3 separate regions of the Homo sapiens genome follow, and regions 1 and 3 are each linked to region 2. Evidence: promoter capture Hi-C in human tissues and cell types (Jung and others, 2019). All regions are on one chromosome and are shown on one strand. Each heading gives the region's core, a stretch centred on a gene start or on the middle of the fragment in contact. The rest is flanking DNA. Distances are from core to core; before and after follow the strand shown. Region 1 overlaps ASB18 (ankyrin repeat and SOCS box containing 18). Region 2 holds the start of ASB18 (ankyrin repeat and SOCS box containing 18). Region 3 has its middle 52 kb from the start of ASB18.

Region 1 (3,661 bases), core at 865-3,364, 45 kb after region 2:
CACTACCAAGAGAACAGTATGAAGGAAACCACCCCCATGATTCAATTATCTCCCACCGGGTCCCTCCCACAACACATGGGAATTATGGGAGTAAAACTCAAGGTGAGATTTGGGTGGGGACACAACCAAACCATATGAGATGTTTAACATTACTAACAAAATGTTCAGAAGCAATGTCCCTTTCCCCACTCACACACAAAAGGTGACGTTTGAGTCTTGAATGCAGCCTTATTTTTAGCAGCTGTTTGTTGTTGTTGTTGTTGTTGTTGCATTGCTCAGTCAGCATCATCTTTTGGTGGTTGTGGAGTCCTTGTATTCACCACTGGATAGTGGGGGCTGGAGTTCATATCCCAAACAGGACACACTGACTGCAAGGCCACCATCCTCTGCCGGGCCCTGCCCTTTAGACCACTGCTTAAACCTCAAAGATGAACTCCTCACCAAAAAGGAGGGAGGATGCCATCTACCGTGCCAGGTAGCTAGGAGGACTGGGTGAGAACCGGTTACTGTGCCACCCCGTAGAATGAGGTCCATGGGTCGCCTTGCCCTGCCTTCAGTGTCCTGTCGGTGAGTCTGTCCAGGAATTCCTGTGGAGTGATAAGAGGAGAAACACTTCTCCTTACCTCGAAAGGAGCATGGCACATGTTCTCTGCTTATTGAATGAATGAAAAGGTCACTCATAACTTGTGGAAAACGCCTAGAACAGAACCTGCCTCAGAGAAGGTGCTTAACAAATAAAACCAGTGGGAAGGGGCAGTGGAGGGGTGTGTGACTGACAGTGGGAAGCCTCATGAAGCAACGAGACCTCTGCTTTGCCACTTCCTGCCTTATGCATGTCACTGGCCTTTTAAGCCTCAATTTCCCCAACTGTAAATTCCACCTACAATGCAAAGTTGTTTCAGGGACTAAAGATAAATAGTTGTTTAAAAAAAAAAAAAAAGGCCAAGTACTGGGGAATCCAAAAGACCTTTCAGTTCAGAACCAGGAGGCAGAGAAGCAGCATTTCCAGGGCTTTGAATAAAGAGGGTGATCAGGAGGCAGGGGAGACGAGAGAGTGGAAGCCTGGACAGGCTCTGGCTGAGAGAAGAGGTATCTGGGCAGAGCATGCAGGGAGCATGGAGGCTTGGCAGGCAGCTGAGACAGGTGGGAGCAGGTGGGTGAGACAGGTGGGTAAAGGAAGGAGGAAACAGTGGGAGAGCCCAGGCTGAGGCCTCCAGGCCTTGTGCCCTGGGAAGGGACTAGGAAAAGCCAGTGCTTTGGGAAGGTGCTGGAGGGTGGATGGGAGGGTGTGCAGGGAGTGGCCAAAGTCCCACATCCCCCCACCCCATAGACATGAATTGGAATGACATTGATTCAACAGTCCTTGATGGGTTCATCTCTATTAACTCCTGCCTTTTGGCTCAAGTTACTTTTTCTTTCTGCTGTTAACCCTGGGCCCCTGTAACAACCTGTCATTGCAGTCATTATCGAAAACAGAGATGAGGCACCCAGAGATTAATGTGTTTGTCCAAGTTGCTTCATATCAGAAGCTGTTGAGACAACATGGTGTCTCCTTAATCCTTGCAAGATAAAGACAAAGTTGTTCTGACATCCTCAGATGGGAATTCTACCCTTAGATCCCAACGGTGACTGTTCTACCCTGACCCCAGGCCTTTCTGACTTTTGCCTTTCTATCAGGACAGCAGGAAACCCACTCACAAAATCTTGCCTTGGAGTAAAAGGCTCAGCCAAGGCTGGGTCCCAGACATAGACCTGCAAAGGCTTCAGGGATGCTTTCCCTACTGAGCTATTTCTTCTTCCACTGGTGGCATTGATACAGAGAAGGCAATGAAATGACAAACAGTAAGCTTTCCCCACTGGGCCATTTCTTCCACTGGTGACGTTGATAGGAGGGATTGAAATGATAGTGTTTCAAGGATGGGCCTGGGTCCTGGGGTCAGGTCTGAGAGGTCCCCACGATTGTTATCACTGAGTAGCTCCCAGCCAGCCCAGGCCTCTCCTCTCCTCACCTTCTCATGGGCATTGCCATACATACGTTCCAAAATGCTGCTTATACCTAAACAGATTGATGGAAATTTCAAGCGTATTCTGGGAACCTGGAAAGCCAAAGGGATATTCTTAGGATCCAGGAGCTGTTGCTGGAGCAGGTGGGGATGGTTTTGTTATTAATAACCTCTGTTGTGGTTCTTGTATCAAACTGCACCTTGACTTATTTTGGATAACTTGAAAAACGCATGCAGGCAAAAAGGAAACAAGCTCCCACTATGCCCATCATCCAGAGATAAACACACATTGCCCTCTAAATTTCTAGGTTTTTTGGCAGGGCACGGTGGCTCATGCCTGTAATCTCAACACTTTGAGAGGCCAAGGTAGGAGGATCACTTAAGCCCAGGAGTTTGAGAGCAGCCTGGGAAACATAGCAAGACCCTGTCAATACAAAAATAAAACAAAAAAAAATTAGCCAAGCATGGGGGCACTCGGCTATAGTCCCAGCTACTTGGGAGACTGAGGCAGGAGGATTGCTGGAGCCCAGAAGTTCAGGGCTGCAGTGAGCCATGATCACGCCACTGCACTCCAGGCTAGATGATAGAGCAAGACCCTGTCTCTAAAAAAATTAATTAAAATTAAAATTAAAATCAATTAAAAAATAAAATGAAAAATTTCTGGTTTCTTTTTCTTTTTTTTTTTTTTTTTTTGAGATGGAGTCTCATTCTGTCACTCAGGCTAGAGTGCAGTGGTGTGATCTTGGCTCACTGCAAGCTCCGCCTCCCAGGTTCACGCCATTCTCCTGCCTCAGCCTCCCCAGTAGCTGAGACTACATGCACCCACCACCACACCTAGCTAATTTTTTGTATTTTTAGTAGAGACGGGGTTTCACCATGTTAGCCAGGATGGTCTCTATCTCCTGACCTCGCAATCCGCCGGCCTTGGCCTCCCAAAGTGCTGGAATTACAGGCGTGAACCACCACATCCGGCCAATTTCTGGTATTCTTCATATACGCATAGATATATTTAAGCTTTTTCAAAATGGGACTGTACAGTGGTGCTATTTTGTAACCTGATCTGTTCACATCCACTGCAAATGTATTTCCATGCCATTAAATAGGCTCTCACACCTTCATTTTTAATGACTGCCACCGTGTACCAGCAGACGTGCCCCAGTCAATTTGTTGTTTCTTTCCCATGCCCGTGGTTCTGCTACTTAAATCATTGCCCACTCTAAAAAAGTGCCAAGGTTTAGCCAACTAGAAGCTCTTCATTAAAAATGAAAAGAGCATCTGCAGCCCTCCAGAGGGTGGGCCAGTGTCCTCATTCCTCTGAAAGGTATCTGTGTTGCAGATAGCAGCCTGGCCATTAGCCAGCTAGGCTGTGCACGTGGAAAAGCCTGGCCATTACCCAGCTATAGGCTGTGCACGTGGAAAAGGGGACTGGTCATATTTCCCTGTGGACTTCTTTAGAGAGGCTGAGCTGCTTAAAAAAATTTTTTCTTTAAAAAGAAGAAAATGTTTTGTAATTGTTTGCAAGTGCACACAGGCTCAGTGGCAAAACGAGAAGGAACCCTTGATTTCTAACGTCCTGCTGCACTGTTCAAAATTCCTCCCAGAGAAGCAAATAGGAAGCAAAGTGAAGCGCTCTGACTGTAAAATTTGCATCCTCCCTT
Region 2 (3,381 bases), core at 553-3,052:
GAAAACACACAGAAAGTGCTTATGGCATAAAGACAAGAGGTCTGGTGGCTGGGGCCCCAGAGCTGGGGCAGGGGTTCAGAAATGTCATCCCCAGTCTCTCCCCCGCTTTCCATCCCACTCTCCTTTCTGTGTTAATCCTTCATTTCATATCTGTTGCCTCCCAGCTGTGATGTGGCTGCTGCACCTCCAGATATCATGTCCATGTTCAAGGAAACAAGAACAGGAAAGGGTGTTGCCAGTCACTTCTGTCCCTCTTGATCAGGAAAGCACATAACTTCCCAGACTCACCCCAGCAGCCAGAACTGGGTTGCAAGGGAGACTGGACATTGAGTGCAGGCAAAGGAGACTGGGACTGACACTACTGACCTAAATCAACATGACTCATCCCCAGGGGCTGGGCACAGTGCCCCCACCAAGAAAGCCAGGCTGTGTTGGGCAGGTGGAAGGAGAATGGATGTTGGGCAGGAACTACAGTGCCTGGCACCTCAAGTGCAGATGGAACAGAAGCTGGAAAATCACACAAATGAGCTGAAAGGAGGAAGAGGGTGTATTAGTCAGTGTTCTCCAGAGGAACAGAACCAACAGTTATGTAGGGAGAGAGAGAGAATTTCTCTTCAAGAATTGGCTCATACTATTGTGCAGACTTGGTAAATCCATCATCAGCAGGGTGGGCTGATAGGCTGGAGACCCAGGGAAGACCTGAGGTTGAGACCAAAGGCTGTCTGCCGCCAGAATTCCTTCTTGCTCAGGGAAAGTCAGTCTTTTGTTCTATTCAGACGTTCAACTGATTGATGGAGGCCCACACACATTAGGGAGAGCCATCGGCTTCACTCCAAGTCTGCCGGTTCAAGAAATTCTAATCTGATCCCAAAAACACCTTCATAGAAACATCTAGACTAGTGTTGGGCCAAGTCTCTGGGCACTGGGGTCCTAGCCAAATTGAGACATAAAATTAAGCACAGGGGAGAAGAAAGAAAGTAAGGAATGGAAAAGATGGCGAGATAGAAGGCAAGGCGAAGGAGGCCCTGTAAGCTCCACGGCCCGCCCTGGGCCCTCAGAGACCACAGCACACTTGGCATCAGCAGAGAAGCTTCAGGCACAGCTGTGCTTATGCACAGGTTGGCACACAGAGACCCAAGCACACTGAAGACACAGGTCAAGGAGAGAAAGCCCCACCTTTGCCCCTAGGAGTGCACAGAAATCCCCCTGAGGGCTCCACACTTCCACAAGTCATGGAATTATAGGCTTTGAGCAAAGTTTACCAGCCTTGAGGCATAGGGAGGTCACAGGTAATATTTAGGTTACTTTTTTTTGTTTTTCTGTGATGCTTCCGTCTTCCTGAGATCAGCCAGTCCTTCTCTGCATTTGGAAACCAAAGATTCCATTCCATTCTATGCGTTTGAGGCATGTCCAATTTGCAGGTGACCAGACGCTCCTTTTAGAGGAAGTGAAGGAACACAAGGGGTAGAATATTAGAAAATGTTCCTTTCCACAGAATAGAGGTCCAAGCCCAGTGCCAGGAAGAGGTTTTCAAAGTTTCAGGAGAGAGCCTCACTTTTGATAAAAGAAGATATTATTCAACAATACCCATGAAAGCTGTCTTTGAAAATATTGTCTCTCCTTCTTGCACCACTCACAAACATGTCTGCTGCCCCCATCTCTAGAATAATCCTTTGCTGAGGCCTCTGGAAAGATTACTTCACACCTCCCTGCTGGCAGGTGGCCCTCCGCAGGGACTGTAAGAGGAGCCAGGGTGCTGCTATTTATAGCAGCCCCCACGCCACTCTCACGGACAGCTGCTGACTTTGGAGTCGCTTTAGAGGAAGAAAAGAAGGGCTGGTCACTGCAGAAACGACGTAACAATGTCCAACTCGGATTACCTTCCCGACTACCCACTCAACTCAGATTTAGTGAAGAGATTAAAGTCTGCCCTGGATGCCAAAGATGAGGAGAGAGTGAGGGATTTAATCTGCACTGAAATCACGCCTGTGGACGCTGTGATAGAACTGGCCAATGACGACTGGATGAAAGACCCCTCGGCTCAGCTGCCCACCGGCATGCTGCTAGGTAACCAGAACGAGCCTGCTGCATCTGGGATTTAATTACTAAGTTACACTGATGGGGTGGGCAGATCCTGGAGGTAGAGGGGCAAATGTTTGGAAAAAGTAAATGATATGTACTCGGATATCTGACTCTCATACATACATGCATATATGTGTACTGCATAGACCATGTACATGCGTGTGCGACATAAGCAACAAGTGCAACACAACACAAAAAAACTAATCCTACCACAGTGGCTGCTCTGTGGCTCCATTGTTTTCCAAGCCTGTCCATTTGCGTGTGTAAATTTCACCCACTGATAACCATATCATACACATAATTGTGTGTTCTGCTCCCTTGAGATCTACAAAATCTAAATCTAAAGCATTTTCCATGTTGCTACATAGTCTTCCCAATTTCAATCCCCTACTGAAATACTTAAACCAAATGCCTACAAAAAGATAGTATTTGGTTACCTTTTTGCTTCTATAAATAATGCTGTAACGAACATCTTTATTAGGATTCATACGGCTTTTTTCTTTTTTGGGATTATATCCTTACCATAAATTCCTAGGAGCCATATAACTGGAACAAGAACATAACATTTTTTCAAATTGTATTGTTTCTAAATTGGTTCCAAATTGTTTTCCGCAAGGGTTTCTGTTCCCTCTGACAGTGAGGTGATGTGTTTCACCACAACCTCACCAAGGAGCATCACTGGTAATGAATGTTTGTATTAAATTGCCATTTGATAAGCACACACTGGTAATTCTTCACTGCCTGTCGCCCATCCTTTCTTTGCAGGTCTGGACAAAGTCTTGTCCATAGGATTTTTTCTTTGTAGGCCTCATCAGGTGCAAGACCTGTCTATTTGGGTCTTGGGCAGGAACTCTCCATCTCTTGGAATCATTTTTATCATTTTGTAGGACTTCTTCACGTAACATAGACATCATCCCTTTGTTAGGTTTCCTGAAAGTGTTTTCCTGACCTGTGATTTACTTTTAGTTGTATTGTGCTGTTTCCCAGCTTGTCAGATTAGGGGACAAGGTTAGTCTTGGCCTCTAAGGGATGCTGAGGGCTCCTTTCCACCCCCATTCTCCCTCCCAACATAGGTGCACACACGCACACGCAAGTACATGCATCACATGCACACGTGTGCGCAACATGCAGGAGGAACACAGATGGGACATGAGTGGGAGTTGCTGCTAGGGAATGGAGCTTGCAGGGTGCTGAGGCGAGGAGTCTGAGATTGGAACTTCCGAGGGGGTCCGCCCCCCCCCCTTGGTTTGGGTCTACTTTCTGGGCTGCCTTTCAGTGGGGACTTAAGCAAGTCGCTTT
Region 3 (3,562 bases), core at 1,036-3,535, 52 kb before region 2:
CTCATATACATATATACATATACAGGCCCAAAAACACACATACACAGATACACATGCATACATACATCCCACACATGCAAACACATCAACACCCCACACATGCATGTGTTCACACACAGGCATGCACACGTAGGCATGCGTGCAGTCCCACAGCTGCCATTATTTCCTCGGTGGGCTCATGGCAGATGCTGGTGGCCTGCACACCCCTGGGCCTCAGGCCTCTTCCCAGGGCTGCGGCAGGGACAGCAGCAGCGGAACAGGGAGGTCTGGCAGGTGCTGGGATGTGTTTACTGTTTACATCGAGTGCAGCGGGAAAGCAGCTTCCTGCTCCCCGTGGGAGTCAGAGGAGCCCCCAGCTGCAGGAAAGGCTGACGCAGACACCCAGCTCCCAGCTGCACCTTGGGCCCAAGGAGGGCGGGCGGGGTGGGGCGGGACTGCTGCACCCAAGGAGAGTGGCGTGGACTGGCAACAGGCCAGAAGCGCTGCACCACTTTACAAGCTAATGAACTTTCCAGGACACAGTGTGGCTCCCCTACACCGCACCGTGAGACCGGTGTCTGCCTGGGAGGAGCAGGATGGAGACTGAATGAGGGGTGATCTGGGACCCTCCCACGGGACCCCAGGAAGCCATATTTATTTCTTCATCAATAAAAGACCTGGAGTGATCCCCATAAAGAGGCTTCTAGCTCTGAGTTCCTCTTGTTCTTCAGATAGAGGCACTCCACATGCCAGGGGCCATGAGTTTTGGAGGAGACAAATACTTTAACCATAGCACTCATTGTGCCTGAAAACGCCATTGCAGACTCCTTATATTGAAATAAATCTTTCTAGTCATCCTTTAGAAAAATGTAAATATCCATGAGGGGTGTAAACATGTATGCTTTTGTTGAATTATGACACAAGCACAGAAAAGGGCTCAACTAGCAAAATGTAAAGTGGAGATGCTCCCAGCTCCTGAGAAGCCCTTCTCCTAATCACTGCCCTCTCCATTTGCAAAGGCAACTATTGTCCTGATTTCCAGCATCCTAGGTTACTTTTAGCTGGGTTTGAACTTTATGTACATGGAAGTAAAGAGTGTGTATTCATTTCCGTCGGGCTTCTTCTAGCCAACATTAGCTTGTGAGACTCCTGCAGCCTTGCAGGCAGTCGCAGTTCGTCCACTTCCATCACTGCGTAGTATCTCCTTGTAGATGCCATACTTAGGCTTCCTATTTTACTGTTAATGAGAGCCTATCTTTTTTTTTTTTTCCCCCGATATGGAATCTCACTCTGTCGCCAGGCAGGAGTGCAGTGGCGCGATCTCAGCTCACTGTAATCTCTGTCTCCCAGGTTCAAGTGATTCCCCTGCCTCAGCCTCCTGAGTAGCCGGGACTACAAGTGTGCACCACCATGCCCGGCTAATTTTTTGTATTTTAGTAGAGACGGAGTTTCACCATGTTGGCCAGGATGGTCTCGATCTCCTGACCTCAGGTGATCCTCCCACCTCGGCCTCCCAAAGTGCTGGGATTACAGGCGTGAGCCACCTCGCCCGGCTGAGCGCCTATGATTTTTTCTTCAGTTTGCGGCTATTATGAATGATGCTGCTGTGGACATCTGTGTCTGTCTCTCTGCACACATGTGCACACACTGCTGTTTGTATATGCCTGGGAAGACAGCTGCTCGCCCCAGAGCATCATCACATGTGGTCGCAGTGCCACCAAGTTTACTGCGTTGGCTGCTCCAATTTCCCTGCCACCAGCGATGCATGCAAACTCCCACTACTCCACATCCTTCCAACTTGGTGTGGTCAGGCGTTTTCATTGTCCCCACTCTGGAGTGTGTCGTATCTCACAATGGTTTTAATTTCCTCTTTCCTAATGACTACTGGGGTTGCACATCTTTTCATATGCATAGTGATCACTTGAATATTACCGTACTTTTTAATAAAACCCGCTGAGTTGGTTGTCTATTTTTCCATTGGGTTGTCTATTTCTTTCTTATTAATTTTATACTTTTAGTGAGAAGCTGTTTGCAGGTGCATGGTTGTGAATATTGTCTCCCACTCTTTAGCTTCCATCTCACTGTCATAATGGTGTCTTTTAATGAAAGTTCTTGCGGTGGCTCATGCCTGTAATCCCAGCACTTTGGGAGGCCAAGGCAGGTGGATCACCTGAGGTCAGGAATTTGAGGGCAGCCTGACCAACATGGTGAAACCCTATCTCTACTAAAAATACAAAAATTATCTGGGCGTGGTGGTGGGTGCCTGTAATCCCAGCTACTCTGGAGGCTGAGGCAGGAGAATCACTTGAACCCAGGAGGCAGAGGTTGCAGTGAGCCAAGATCGCACAATTGCACTCCATCCTGGGCAACAGAGTGAGACTCCATCTCAAAAAGAGAGAGAGAGAGAGAGAGAGAGAGAGAGAAGAAAATAAGTTCTTAATGTTAAGGAAACTTGGCTTATCAACTTTGTCTTTGTGGTTACAGTTTTTTTGTGTCCTATGTTAAGAGTTCTTTGCCTACCTCAAGATTATGACACTATTGTTGCTAATAGCTTTCAGAAGCTTTTATTTTAAGTTCCAGGTACATGTGCAGGATGTGCAGGTTTGTTACATAGGTAAATGTGTGCCATGGTGGTTTGCTGCATCTATCAACCCATTACTTAGGTATTAAGCCCAGCATGCATTCCCTCTTTTCCCTAATGCTCTCCCAAACCCGCCGCCCTCCGACAGGCCCCAGTGTGTGTTGTTCCCCTCTTGTGTCCACGTTCTCATTGTTCAGCTGCCACTTGTGAGAATATGCGGTGTTTGGTTTTCTGTTCCTGCGTTAGTTTGCTGAGGATAATGGCTTCCAGCTTCATCCATGTCCCTGCAAAGGACATGATCTCATTCCTTTTTATGGCTACATGGTATTCCATTGTGCATATGTACCACATTTTCTTTATCCAATCTATTATTGATGGGCATTTGGGTTGAGTCCATGTCTTTGCTATTGTGAATAGTGCTGCAATGAACATACACATGCATGTATCTTTATAATAGAATGATTTATATTCCTCTGGGTATATACCTAGTAACGGGATTGCTGGGTCAAATGGTATTTCCAGTTCTTAATCTTTGAGGAATTGCCACAGTGTCTTCCACAATGGTTGAACTGATTCACATTCCCACCAACGGTGTAAAAACGTTCCTATTTCTCCCCTTTTCAGAAGCTTTATTGTTTCACTTATCACATTTATATCTGCGAGTTTACCTGGAATTGATTTTTGTTCATGGTTCAAGTCTTATTTCAGAGCCATATGAATATGTGATTGACCCAAAGCTCCAGCACCATTTCTTGAAAAGACTGTTCTTTTCCCAGTGCTTTTCAGTGCCCTCTATCATTGAAAACAAGTATTTAAAAACAACAACAACAATGAAAACAAGTGTTTATGTAGACAGTGATTTGCTTACAAATCCTCTATTCTGATCTACTGCATCTGTCTATCATTCTGCCAATATCACATTGACTTGAGCACTGTAGCTTTACAATAATGGTTTGCATCCATAGAGTAAGTCATCCCACCTTGTTTTTCTCCAAAGTGTCT

Evidence for each region. The method cuts DNA at HindIII sites, captures the fragments that hold promoters and counts their contacts. A contact is called where the count stands out against the background at its distance.
Region 1: a fragment that was not itself captured here is called in contact with the fragment with the promoter of ASB18 in region 2 in 3 of the 25 tissues and cell types used here (dorsolateral prefrontal cortex, liver and spleen).
Region 3: a fragment that was not itself captured here is called in contact with the fragment with the promoter of ASB18 in region 2 in 3 of the 25 tissues and cell types used here (aorta, mesenchymal stem cells and spleen).

What each region holds. Positions count from the first base shown.
Region 1 is chr2:236,217,833-236,221,493 of GRCh38, reverse strand. All of the region lies in intron 3 of ASB18 (ankyrin repeat and SOCS box containing 18), which reads left to right. It overlaps LOC124908000 (a long non-coding RNA gene), which reads right to left. Exons shown (of 2, transcript XR_007088137.1): 2 at 1-587. Among named protein-coding and RNA genes, the nearest start is that of ASB18, 45 kb to the left of the region's middle. The HindIII fragment of the contact is 3,997 bases long and covers 116-3,661 here.
Region 2 is chr2:236,262,827-236,266,207 of GRCh38, reverse strand. ASB18 (ankyrin repeat and SOCS box containing 18) reads left to right here and starts at 1,802. Exons shown (of 6, transcript NM_212556.4): 1 at 1,802-2,067. The coding sequence starts at 1,863. The HindIII fragment of the contact is 6,526 bases long and covers 1-3,381 here.
Region 3 is chr2:236,314,986-236,318,547 of GRCh38, reverse strand. It overlaps a transcript of DRC11 not described here. Among named protein-coding and RNA genes, the nearest start is that of ASB18, 52 kb to the right of the region's middle. The HindIII fragment of the contact is 5,156 bases long and covers 1-3,562 here.